2 separate regions of the Homo sapiens genome follow, and region 1 is linked to region 2. Evidence: promoter capture Hi-C in 16 types of primary human blood cells and fetal thymus (Javierre and others, 2016). All regions are on one chromosome and are shown on one strand. The core of a region is centred on a gene start or on the middle of the fragment in contact, and the rest is flanking DNA. Distances in the headings are between cores, read along the strand shown.

Region 1 (6,687 bases), core at 625-3,124, 410 kb after region 2:
CTTGACCTGTGGATACCTAGTGAAATACACCCTGTAAAAAAACAGTATTGAATGAGAATTCAGACTCATAAGTTTATTTTACTATCTTTTCTTTTTTTTTAAGATGGAGTCTCACTCCATTGCCTAGGCTGGAGTGCAGTGGCGTGTTCTCGGCTCACTGCAACCCTACAATCCACACCCCTGGGATCATGCAATTCTGTCTCCATCTCCTGAGTAGCTGAACTGCAGGCAATACTATCACGCCCAGCTAATTTTTGTATTTTTAGTATAGACTGGGTTTCACCATATTGGTCGGGCTAGTCTTGAACTCCTGACCTCAGGTGATCCACCTGCCTTGGCTCCCCACAGTGCTGGGATTACAGGTGTGAGCCATTGCGCCCAGCCCAGACTCATAAGTTTAATATTGTTTGTTGAGTTGCTCTTAACCTTTGTGTAAATCTATATTCACCTTGTACTTCTTAATTAATAATGACTCTAAATAACACTCTAAATCTGACATAATATTCAGTGCTTTACACTTAGCAAATTTAATCCTTGGAGTGGCCATGTGAAGTGGTAGGTATTAGTATCATCAAATTTTACAAATTGGGAAACTGAGAATAAGAGAGTATAAAAATCAAACCGAAGTCTTTCTAGCATCAAATCCATTAACCGTTTAACATGCTAAATCTAATGTGATTTGTGTTTTAGAAAAAACATTCAAGTATTTGAAGAGTATTAGGGAGAATCTTTGGAAAACATTTAGGAAATTTTCCACCCTCACCTCAAACACTTGAATACCTATTATGTGCTTGATACTTTCATAAACAACAATAATCACATTTAATGTAGTTAACATTTGTTGAGTGTAAACTATGTGCTGTACATGCATTCATTCTTTGTGATTATAAAATATTTCAAAAGTACAGAAAAGTATAGAAAATAAATCTCTATGTATCATTACCAGGCTTTAACAGTTTTTAACATTGTTATTTTAGCTTTATTAAAAAATCACCCTCAGTTGAACACCCTGTACATTCTTCTTTGATCCCATTCCTATCTTAAAAGCTTCCTACCATCCTTCCCTTGCTACAGAAATGTATCTGCTATCTTGAACTTGGTGGTTATATGTTCCACATGCATTGTTCAGTTAATCTTCTCAAAAACCTGAGGCAAATTCTGATTATATTTTATAGGTAAAGAAACCGAGGTTTCAGTTTCTTGCCTGAGGTCAATAGACACTTGGAATCAGAACGCGAACCCTCAGGCTCTCTGTCAGCAAAACTTATGCTCTAACCACTTTTCTATGCTGCCCTAATTTTCATTTTATGCTACTAGTCCTCACTTTTCTCTCACCCGTGCTTTCGGAAAGAGTCTGTCTAATGGACATTGCTATTCTGATGTCTAACAAAGCACGTCAACATGCCTAAAATATAGTTAATCTTTCCTTTCAACCCCCAGGACTTGCCTCTTCCTCCTGTGTTTTATATCTCGTTGAATGATCCCATTTTCTATCTAGTTTCCAAAACTTTTCCCTCTCCTTCAACCTCTATGTTCAGTCACTAAGTCCTGTTGTTTCTGCCTTAAAAAAAGCTAGGTGTTTGCCTCACTCCTGTAATCCCAGCACTTTAGGAGGCTGAGGTGGGTGGATCACCTGAGGTCGGGAGTTTGAGACCAGCCTGACCAACATGGTAAAACCCCATCTCTGCTAAAACTACAAAAAATTAGCTGGATGTGGTGGCAGGGAACCTGTCATCCCAGCTAGTTGGGAGACTGAGGCAGGAGAATCACTCGAACCCAGGAGGCGGAGATTGCAATGTGCCGAGATTGCACCACCGCACTCCAGCGTGGGCAACACAGCGAGACTGTCTCAAAAAAAAAAAAGTATCTCACAGCCATTTGCTTCCCTCTATCCCTGTTTGTGTTTCCTTAGCCTAGGCTACTATCATCTCCTAATCAGTCTCAACAGCCTTTTAGCAGTCTCCTAATCAGTCTCAACAGCCTTTTAATTTTTACTTATCTATTTATTCATTCATTTTTGAGACAGCGTCTTGCTCTGTTGCCCAGGCTGGAGTGCAGTGGCACAATCATGGCTCACTGCAGTCTTGACCTCCCAGGCTCGGGTGATTCTCCCATGTCAGCCTCCAGAGTAGCTGGGACTCCAGGCATGCACCACCACACTTGGCTAATTTTTGTATTTCTTGTAAAGATGGGATTTCGACATGTTGCCCAGGCAGGTCTCAAACTCCTGAGCTCAAGTGATCTGCCTGCCTCAGCCTTTGAAAGTGCTAGGATTACAGTCTTGAGCCACTGTTCCTGTCTCTCATCAGCCTTTAAAAAAATTCTCTATTTTATTCTTATTAAACCAGGATAATCTTTCTAAAGTTCAGATTGATCATGTTCCATACCTGTTTAAAACCCTTCAGTGGTTTACCACTGCATTTAGGATATAGTCTAAATTACAAGGCTTATAAGACACTTCATTGTCTTGCCCCTATTTAGCTCTTCAGCCTCGGCCATTCCCCTGCCATTATATATACTCCAGTAATATTAAACTTCTTTCAGATTCCAATTACTTTAAAAAGCCATGTGTTTTCATACCTCTAGACCTTCAATCATATTGAACACTCTTCCTCTCCCCTTATCTCTCCCTTCTTGTATCAGACTGATTTCTGTTTACCCTGAGTCTCAGCTAAAAGATCACTTTTTCTAGGAAGCTTTCCCTGATTTCTCTTCTCTCCTTCTCCCAAAGTGACTTTAGGTGTTCCTGCTCTGGGATTTCATTATGTAGTTGACCCTTGAACAAAACAGGTTTGAACTGCGTGAGTCTACTTATACATGAATTTTTTCCAACAGATTGTGGTTGGAAAGTACAGTATTCCCAGGATGCAAAACCCAAGTATTCAGAGATCCAACTTTTTGTATATATGGGTTCTGTAGAGCTGACTGTGGGACTTGAGTACAGGATTGTGGGGGTCCTGGAACCAATCCCCTGCATATCCTGAGGGACAGCTGTACACTGTACATTCTTTATCATAGTACTCATTATACTTATTATGATTGCTTATGTAATCTTTGTCTGCTCCCTTCCTTATCCCCCTTAAACGTTGAGCTCCATGAGGGCATACATGTTGGTATTACATTTTTATTACCTAGAACAATACTTAGTACATAATTGACACAATAAATACTTGTTGAGGGACTGAATGAAAGTGACTATGAGATATTTAGATGGAAGTTTTGAGTTTGCAATAGGAAGTATGTGTTCTGCACGATGGGAACCATGTCTGGGCTCTCGTTTCTTTGGACAATAAAACGATTTGTGAGGCAATACCTACTTGAAAAGGGGGTTTGAGTACCTTGGGAAAAACTAATTATTTGTTATGATATACATCATAGAGTTCTGTTTTATAAAGTTTTTAATTTTGTATTTTATCTCTACTTTTATAAAATTAAGATGTTTATAAATTAATTAAAAAAAATTTTTTTTTTGTCTGCAGTCTGAATCACCATCTTATTCTCCTCAGCCTCAGCCATTTCCACAGAACTCTTCCCAGTCAGCTGCTATTACTCAGCCTTCATCTCAGCCAGGATCCCAACCTAAGCTTGGCCCACCTCAGCAGGGAGCCCAACCTCCCCATCAGGTCCAGATGCCACTGTATAACTTTCCCCAGTCACCACCAGCTCAGTATTCTCCCATGCACAATATGGGATTGTTGCCAATGCACCCTCTCCAGATCCCTGCCCCGTCCTGGCCCATCCATGGCCCAGTGATCCACTCTGCACCAGGCAGTGCCCCCAGCAATATTGGCCTAAATGATCCCAGCATCATCTTTGCACAGCCTGCTGCCAGACCTGTGGCAATCCCTAACACGTCTCACGATGGACACTGGCCCCGTACTGTGGCTCCAAATTCCCTGGTAAACAGTGGTGCAGTGGGGAATTCAGGTAACCTTTCCTTTTCTTCTTTTTTATCTGCATGTCTTTTCTTCTTTTGTATCTGTCTGTAGAAACAATGTGAGGAAAAAGAAGGAAAGCAGTATTTGTGGAGGGGACAGTACAGGATTAGATAAAGATTAAGAATATGGGCTCTGGACTCAGACTGCCTGGATTTGAATCCTGGCCCTGCCATTTATTATGTAGCTTGGGCAGTTAATCTCTTTGTGCATTGGTTTCATCTGTAAAATAGGCCATCTAACTCACAGGGATGTTGTAAATGTTAAATGAGGTGTAACACACATAAATGTTAGCTATTATTTTAGTATTTTAAAAAATTTTCACTGCCACTCAGTTTGGTGTATTATTTATTACACAGTTGATGAAATTGAAGAGTTAAGTAACTTCACTGTCTTACTGTCATGGTTAATAATGGTAGGTTGGCCGGGCATGGTGGCTCATGCCTGTAATCCCAGCACTTTGGGAGGCGGAGGCAGGTGGATCACCTGAAGTCAGGAGTTCGAGACCAGCCTGGCCAACATGGTGAAACCCCATCTCTACTAAAAATACAAAAATTAGCTGGGTGTGGTGGTGCACGCCTGTAATCCCAACTATGTGGGAGGCTGAGGCAGGAGGCTCGCTTGAACCCAGGAGGTGGAGGTTGCAGTGAGCCGAGATTGCGCCATTGCACTCCAGCCAGGGCGACAGAGCAGAACTGTCTCAAACAAAAAAAAGATCAAGGAAACCAAAAAAATTAATGATGGTAGGTCCAAGAGTTAAACGAATTTCTTTGTTCAAAACCGTGCTGCTGCATGCCCTAGACACTATTTTTTCTCAGGAACAATTCTTTAAAAAAGAAAAATAGTTTTTTTTCTGATATCTAAGTAATAAATGTTCATTATAGAGTATTTGAGAAATAAATCATCTATCATCTCAATTCCTAGACATAAATACTAAGGAATATTTTGGTGTATTACTATTCAGTCATTAAAAAAAAACTGCATATTTAAGAAAATAGTTGATACATGCTATAAATCTAGTTTTACATCCAGCTTTAAAATACATAGACACACACACACACACATATATACACACATACATATAAATATTTATACACACTTAAACATACACAGGCCGGCACTGTGGCTTACACCTGTAATCCCAGAACTTTGGAAGGCTGAGGTGGGCAGATCAGTTGAGGCCAGGAGTTTAAGACCAGGCTGGCCAGCATGGCAAAACTCTTGTCTCTATTAAAAATACAAAAATTAGCCGGGTGTGGTGATGCATGCCTGTAATCCCAGCTACTCAGGAGGCTGAGGCAGGAGAATCGCTTGAACCCAGGGAAAGAGAGGTTGCAGTGAGTTGAGATCATGCCATTGCATTCCAGCCTGGGCAACAGAGTGAGACTCTCTCAAAAAAAAATAAATAAATAAATAAAATTAAAAAAAAGTATATATATATATATATTTAGACAAAGTCTCAAAGTGTTGTCCAGGTTGGAGTGCAGTGGCTATTCACAGGCCAATCTAGCATACTACAACCTTGAACTCCTGGGCTCAAGTGCTCCTCCTGCCTTAGCCTCCTGAGTAGCTGTGGGACTACAGGCACACACCACTGTGCCTGACTTATGCCCAACTTTTTAGTGATAATTATTTTTATCTTAAGAACTATTAGCACTTTGGGAGGCTGAGGCGGGTGGATCACAAGGTCAGGAGATCAAGCACATCCTGGCTAACACGGTGAAACCCCGTCTCTACTTAAAAAATACAAAAAATCAGCTGAGCGTGGTGGTGGGCGCCTGTAGTCCCAGCTACTCGGGAGGCTGAGGCAGGAGGATGGTGTGAACCCGGGAGGCAGAACTTGCAGTGAGCCGAGATCGTGCCACTGCACTCCAGCCTGGGCGACAGAGCGAGACTCCATCTCAAAAAAAAAAAAAAAAAAACCTATTATGGAAATTTTGAAACATACACAAAAGACAGTAAAGTATATAATGAACCCCCCTCCCCATTAACCAACTTTAACAGTTATCAATAATTTGCTATTCTTTTATCGGATTCCTAGCCATTAAAAATATTTTTGACTTGACTGATCAAATCTCAGACATTGCATCAAATTTGCTTTTTAACTTCAGTTGTGTCACTTAAAAAAAACATGAGATCATTGCCATACCTAGTATCATCTAATACCCAGTCCTTGTTCAGTTTTTCCTGTTTATCTAAAAAAGTATATAGTTTTTTGAGACAGTCTCGCTCTGTTGCCAGGCTGGAGTGCAGTGGAACAATCTCGGCTCACTGCAACCTCCGCCTTCTGAGTTCAAGTGATTCTCCTGCCTCCCGAATAGCTGAGACTACAGGTGCGCACCACCATGCCCGGAATTTTTTTTTTTTTTTTTTTTTTTTTAGAGGGAGTCTTGCTTTGTCACCCAGGCTGGAGTGCAGTGGCACGATCTCAGCTCACTGCAACCTCCGCTTCCTGGGTTCAAGCGATTCTCCTGCCTCAGCCTCCCAAGTAGCTGGGATTAGAGGCGCCTGCCACCACGCCTAGCTAAATTTTGTATTTTAGTAGAGACGGGGTTTCACTATGTAGGTCAAGCTGGTCTTGAACTTCTGACCTCAAATTATCCGCCTGCCTCGGCCTCCCAAAGTACAGGGATTACAGGTGTGAGCCACCGCGCCTGGCCCTAATTTTTGTATTTTTAGTAGAGATGGGGTTTCATTCACCATGTTGGCCAGGATGGTCTCGATCTCTTGACCTCATGATCCGCCTGCCTTG
Region 2 (7,135 bases), core at 3,522-6,021:
TAAGCTAAAAAAAAAAAAAAATGACAGGCTGGGCACGGTGGCTCATGTCATGCCTGTAATCCTAGCACTTTGGGAGGCCAAGGCGGGCCGATCACCTGAGGTCGGCAGTTCGAGACCAGCCTGACCAACATGGAGAAACCCTGTCTGTACTAAAAATACAAAATTAGGCCAGGTACCGTGGTTCACACCTGTAATCCCAGCACTTTGGGAGGCCAAGGTGGGTGGATCACAAGGTCAGGAATTCAAAACCAGCCTGATCAACATGGTGAAACCCTGTCTCTACTAAAAATACAAAAATTAGCAGAGTGTGGTGGTGCACACCTATAATCCCAGCTATTCAGGAGGCTGAGGCAGGAGAATCGCTTCAACCTGGGAGGCGGAGGCTGCAGTGAGCCGAGATCGAGATCACGCCACCGCACTCCAGCCTGGGCAACAACAGCGAAACACCTGAGGTCGGGAGTTTGAGACCATCCTGGCTAACACAGTGAAACCCCGTCTCTACTAAAAATACAAAAATTAGCCAGGCGTGGCGGCGTGTACCCGTAGTCCCAGCTGCTGGGGAGACTGAGGCAGGAGAATGGCGTGAACCCGGGAGGCGGAGCTTGCAGTGAGCTGACATTGCGCCACTGCACTCCAGCCTGGGCGACAAAAAAAAAAAAAAAAGTAAATGTGAACAGACAAAAATGTAATTTTAAAGCCTAGAGATGTGGCTCCCAAGCTTTTTGGTCCTAGTACCACTCTACACTCTTAAAAATTGGGTTATATCTATCAACATATACCACGTTAAAAATTAAATCTTAGCAATCTTTAAAATACACATTAATTCACATAGAAAAAATTAAAAACTCAGAGCATGTTAACATAGATAACATTTTTTAAAATAGCCATAATTGGCCGGGCGCGATGGCTTGCCTGTAATCCTAGTACTTTGGGAGGCCAGGGTGGATGGATCATGAGTTCAACCAGCCTGGCCAACATAGTGAAACCCCATCTCTACTGAAAATACAAAAATTAGCCGGGAATGGTGGCGTGCACCTATAGTCCCAGCTACTCAAGAGGCTGAAGCAGGAGAATCGCTTGAACCTGGGAGGCGGAGGTTGTGGTGAGCCAAGATCATGCCACTGCACTCCAGCCTGGGCAACAGAGTGAGACTCTGTTTCAAAATATATATATATATATATATATATATATATATATATATATATATATATATATATATAAAAATTTAAAAAGCCATGATTTCCAAAAGAACTAAAAACTAGCTTAGTTGAGAACAGCAGCACTGTTTTACATTTTTGCAAATTTCATTAACAGGCAGGCTAATGGAAGAGATGGGATTCTGGAGGTCCTGGGGTCCACACTTTGAAAACAGCTACCTTTGAGTGACTATTAAAGAGTAAGAAGGAGAAAGGGAGAGAAAGAGAGAACTACTAAGTCAAAAGAGAACATGGTATTTTCTAAATAATTCAAAAGAAAAGGAAAAAACAAGACAAATGGAACATATATAGCAACACAGTAGACTTAACCCCAACAATACTGATAATTATATTTATTCTAATTAAAAAGCACAGAAAGGCCGGGCACAGTGGCTCACATCTGGAATCCCAGAACTTTGGGAGGCTGAGGCCAGAAGTCTGAGACTAGCCTGGGCAACAAAGCAAGACTCAGCCTCTACAAAAAATAAAAAACAGCCAGGCATGGTGGTGCACACCTATAGTCTAGCTACTAGGGAGGCTGAGGAGGGAGGATGAGCTATGATCACAGACTGCACTCAAACCTGGGCAACAGAGTGAGACTCTCTCCTCCCTGCAAAAATCAATTTAAAAAATACATTTTTAATTAAAAAAATTAAAATGTTTACTTTCCTGTCCTCTGTAAAAAAAAAAAAAAAAAAATTCAAAAATAAAGGCTGGGTGCAGTGGTTCACGCCTGTAATCCCAGCACTTTGGGTGGTCAAGATGGGCAGGTCGCTTGAGGCCAGGAGTTCAGGACCAGCCTGGGCAACATGGTGAAACCCCGCCTCTACAAAAATACCTGTCTCTACAAAAATACAAAAATTAGCCAGGAAATGGTGGCACACACTTGTAGTCCCAGCTACTCAGGAGGCTGAGGCGAGAGAATCGCTTGAACCCGGGAGGCGGAGGTTGCAGTGAGTCAAGATTGTACCACTGTACTCCAGCCTGAGTGACAGAGCAAGGCTCCGTCTCAAAAAAAAAAAAAAAAGCACAGACCATTAGGCTACATACAAATGCAAGATTGCTGTTTACAAGAGACACAATTTAAAACATACAGTTGTTAAACACTAGACACAAGGAAACTGGAGTGACTACACTGTCAGAAAAAATGAGGCTTCTGGACAAGAATATTGCTAGAGATCAAGATGGACATTTCTTAATGATAAAAGGGCCAATTCATCAAGCAGAATTAACATTCCTAAATGCATACGAACTTACTAATAGCTTCAAAATTCATGAAGCAAAAAATTGAAAAGATATGGGAGGCCAAGGCAAGAGGATTGCTTGAGCCGGAGTTCAAAGACCAGCCTGGACAATAGGGAAACCACCGTCTTAATTAAAAATAAAAAATTAAAAGGATAAAAAGAAAATAATATGACTGTGTAGAAAATCTTTAAAAATTTACAAAAAAATAAAGAAAACTAAGTGACTTTGGCCAGGCTGTAGGATACAAGATCAATATACAAAAATCAATTTTATGTATTCTTATATATACACAAGGTAATATAAAGTTTTAAAAAATATTTGCTGGCCGGGCACGGTGGCTCATGCCTGTAATCCCAGCACTTTGGGAGACTCCGTCTCAAAAAAAAAAAGTATTTACAATAGTATCAAGAACAGGAACAAATTTAACAAAATGTGAAAAGACTTTTATATTAAAAACTACAAAACATTGCTAAGAGAAGATTAAAATGACATAAATGGAAATAATTGTATGTATGTTTCATAGGGAAAAAAGTATTCATGCAATATTTGTGTAATTAAAATAATTAATTAAAAATAAATAAAATCCTTAACAAAGAAAATGAGATATACCCAGAACTAGACAGAGAAAATGGGTGTGAGTACTTTTGTAAAGAAATCTTGTTTCGATTCCAAGCAGGAAAAAATGTGCTTGAGACGATGCTAGCACACACGTAAAAAATCCAAGTTTTCCATTAATTACAAATCCACAAATTATATAACTTTTCTAAATGAGTTCAAAAGATTACAGGCTAGATCACTGCAGGGCACAAAGTCTTCCAACAAGGCGTTAATATGTAAAGCACAACCTTAATCAGAACATTTCCTTCTCTCCATAAATTTTGGGTCGAGCCTTCACCACTCAATCCCTCGAGTTCCCCAAGGGTGGCCCTTGGCGGGTTTTTTCCAAAGTGGGGCCAGAGGTCTGAACACCTGAGGTGAAATTCAAGTTCACGAGCAAGTCAACTAAATTTCAGAGCTCCCAACTTCCCTACATCGGTAAAATGGAGCCTAGCAAAGCCTACAAAAGACTAGGGGTTACCAGACTGCTTTAGAAAGGCGACACTTGGCCGGGCACGGTGGCTGACGCCTGTAATCCCAGCACTCTGGGAGGCCGAGGCGGGTAGATCACGAGGTCTGGAGTTCGAAACCATCCTGGCCAACATGGTGAAACCCCGTCTCTACTAAAAATACAAAAAATGAGTCGGGCATGGTGGCACGCGCCTGTAGTCCCACCTACTCGGGAGGCTGAGGCAGAAGAATCGCTTGAACCCCGGAGGCGGAGGTTGCAGTGGGCCCAGATCGCGCCACTGCACTCCAGCCTGGTGACAGAGCGAGACTCCGTCTCAAAAAAAAAAAAAAAAAGAAAGAAAGAAAAGAAAGGCGACACTTAACACACAGCAGGCGCTAAACACACATTCTTTGGGTTTGCATTTTGTCCAGAGCTAAGAGTAACAGGCATTCGGCAAAGGCTGGGGACGGGACGGGGACGGGGGCGGACGCGCGGAACTGAAAGAATCTCAGACTTCGGGTTCCAGTTCCCCCAGCCGGACTAAGCTACTCGCCCGGCCCCGGGCCCAAAGGCCTCAGGTGGTAACGGCCAAAGGGTCACCGCCTCCGCGGGGCGCTGCGTCCACAACACGGGTGGGGAAACGGTCAAGGTTTGCGGCGTTTGGGTTCATGACTGCAAAAACACCGTCCACTACGGGCCAAGCCGAGTGCCATGCCCTGCACCTACGTCTAAGCTCACAGCAGCCCGCACTGGGGCGAGGAATCCTGAGGAGGCTCGCCCCGGTCTCTGGGACTGGGCTCTCGCCGCGCTGCCTCAGGGCGCAAGTTCCACGCGCTTCGCCGGGCGCAGAAAAGCACCCCCCGCTCCGCGGCGCCCAGGCCGCCTCCCCCGACAACGCACCTCCGCAGCGACGCCTGCGCCTGGAAGGGGCTCGGCATCTAGACCGCAGCCCCGCGCGGGCCACACTCCCCAGCAAGTGCCTCGGCAGCGTCCCAGGAGACTCGCCGCGCTCGCCGGAGCTGGACGTGGCGCCGAGGTCCGCGTCGCCGCCCGCACCCCGGTGCTCACCTGTACCACGCAGCAGCCCAGGGCATCCTTCTGAGCGTCAGGAGGGACGATGTTCCGGGGCGTGTGGCCCGGGTGCAAGAAATGAACCATGGCAACCCCGGCGGCGGGGCGTCAAAAAGAGAGCCGGCGTCGAGCCGGAGCCCGGATCCCGCGAGAACCAAGCGGGCGGCTGCCAGGACGCGCCCACCACGCCTGCGAGGCACACGGAGCTAGCGCCGCGCCCTGCCGGCGAGCTTTTGAAATGCCCGGCGAGGCGACGCGCACGCGGGGGCCGGCCCGCCGCAGACCCCACCCCCCGGGCGGCCTCCTAGCCCCATCCGCCCTCCGACACGCCGCTGCCGGGGCCAACCGTTCTCCTCCCGCCTCCCCAGCCTCCCCAGCCTCCCCAGACCAACCTGCCACGACCCAGCCGCTCACCCACTCCTTCCCAGCCCTGCACCTCAGGGCTTGAGAGGATATTCCCCGAGGACCGGCTGTGTAGGTTTGGGGAATACTGTATATATATATACATGTACACACACACACACACACACACACACACACACACACACACATATTCATTATTTCTATATATGTATATATTTTTTAAAGCTTTCATACATTAAAATATATATTTCAAAGACTTTGCCCCTGAAAATCTGGCAACAGCACCTCTCTAACGGTCCTCTCTGTTTCAACTCCTTAGAGTATCTGGATAAATCAAATATAAAACGAATACAAAATATTGGCAAGTATCTACCAAAAAATCTATTTAGCTTTCTTGTTACTTAAAAAGTACTCGAGAAGACCCTTATAACCTGCTCCAAGAAAGAAACCCCGAGAGACCCTTCTAACTTTCTCCAGGAAAGAAACTCCACAAGTTAGTACACATTAGCTAATTTAAGAGAAAGCAATACCTTGGAAAAGGAAAGTTCTCAAGAGCATGAGCCTTGGAGTTTGAATCCTGAATTAGAATGCCCGCTCAGCCATCTAGTGTTTGAGAACCTGGAGCAAGATTCTTGATGTCTCTGAAGCTCAACTTCCTCATCAGTAAAATAGAATGAGAATGCTTTATCTCACAGACTTAATGTAAGGATTAAATAATGTATGTAAAACACATCACAATGCTTTTTACATAGTAAGTCCTTGATAAGTGGATTGGATTCAGATGTTAAAATTATTTTTAAGTACTTTGCCTAATGCTTTTCTTTCATTTATTTATTCTTTTATTTAATCCACTTACTACAAGAAGAAAAAAAATCCTGTGCTGTAGGTATCATCCCCATTTTTCTCACAGGGAAACTGAAGAACTGACAGGTTGAATAGACAACACGTTTTTTGGCCAGCTGATGAGTGGCCAACCTGGGAGTCAAAATTGAGTTTTCTTACTGCAAGTCCAATCAATATGCTTTTTTTTTTTTTTTTTTTTTAGACGGAGTCTCGCTCTGTTGCCCAGGCTGGAGTGCAGTGACGCGATCTCAGCTCACAGCAACCTCCGCCTCCTGGGTTCAAGTGATTCTCCTGCCTCAGCCTCCCAAGCAGCTGGGACTCCAGGCGCGCGCCACCACACCCGGCTAATTTTTGTATTTTTAGTAGAGACAGCGTTTCACCATGTTGGCCAGGATGGTCTAGATCTCCTGACCTGGTGATCCGCACGCCTCGGCGTCTCAAAATGTTGGGATTACAGGCGTGAGCCACCGTGCCCCCGCCAATATGCTTTTGTTAACGGTGGAGGGTGTTCATGTTCTTGGTGTCTTGAACAAAGAATTGGACAAAACGCACAAACAAGGAAGGAATGAAGGGATTTATTGAAAATGAAAGTACACTCCACAATGCCACAATGTGGGAGTGGGCCCGAGCACTGGGGCTCAAAGACCCCGTTACAGAATTTTTGGGAGTTTAAATACCCTCTACTTGGGGTATGCCCTATGTAAATGACGAGGATGAAGGAAAGTTACAGTCATTTCCTCGGCTTTTGCCCAATGGAGAGGATATTTCCTATTACAGCTGAAGTGTGAATTTCAGCAATTTTAACTTTAATATAGAACCTGGTAAGTTATGTTCTCATAAGGTTTGACTATTTCCAGCATATCTAGAGGTGTGGCCAACTGCATATGTCCCAGGCCTTACCGAGCTAGAAAACAGGCAAGTTAAACAATTTTCAAAAGCCAAGGAAGCAGTTTATGACCTTAAAGCATTTAGCAAACCTAATATTTGAACATAATTTTGACCACATGTTTACATTTTGAAGACATTTGTATTTTATCAATAATCTTTAAACCCATCTTTATTTCCCAAAGATTACCCAAGTCACATGAACTAAATAAAAGGCATTATGTTTTTCACTTTTCTGACAAAATATTTTATTTAAGCTCTTATTATTAAACCAATTAATTTAAAACGTAACACATGAGGCCAGGCACGGTGGCTCATGCCTGTAATCCCAGCACTATGGGAGGCCGAGATGGGTGGATCGCCTGAAGTCAGGAGTTCAAGACCAGCCTGGCCAACATAGTGAAACCCAATCTCTACTAAAAATACACAAAAAAATTACCTGGGCATGGTGGCGCATCCCTGTAATCCCAGCTACTTGGGAGGC

What was found. Contacts are between HindIII fragments. The CHiCAGO score rates a contact against its expected background, and 5 or more counts as called.
Region 1: a contact is called between a fragment that was not itself captured here and the fragment with the promoter of ZYG11A in region 2, in 1 of 17 cell types (naive B cells). The highest score is 5.0, in naive B cells.

Annotation. Positions count from the first base shown.
Region 1 is chr1:52,428,253-52,434,939 of GRCh38, reverse strand. It overlaps TUT4 (terminal uridylyl transferase 4), which reads left to right. Exons shown (of 30, transcript NM_001009881.3): 28 at 3,480-3,927. Among named protein-coding and RNA genes, the nearest start is that of PRPF38A, 27 kb to the right of the region's middle. The HindIII fragment of the contact is 1,649 bases long and covers 1,050-2,698 here.
Region 2 is chr1:52,840,396-52,847,530 of GRCh38, reverse strand. ZYG11A (zyg-11 family member A, cell cycle regulator) reads right to left here and starts at 4,771. Exons shown (of 14, transcript NM_001004339.3): 1 at 4,558-4,771. The coding sequence starts at 4,647. RefSeq lists an enhancer at 3,597-4,190 and a silencer at 4,692-5,021. The HindIII fragment of the contact is 4,430 bases long and covers 721-5,150 here.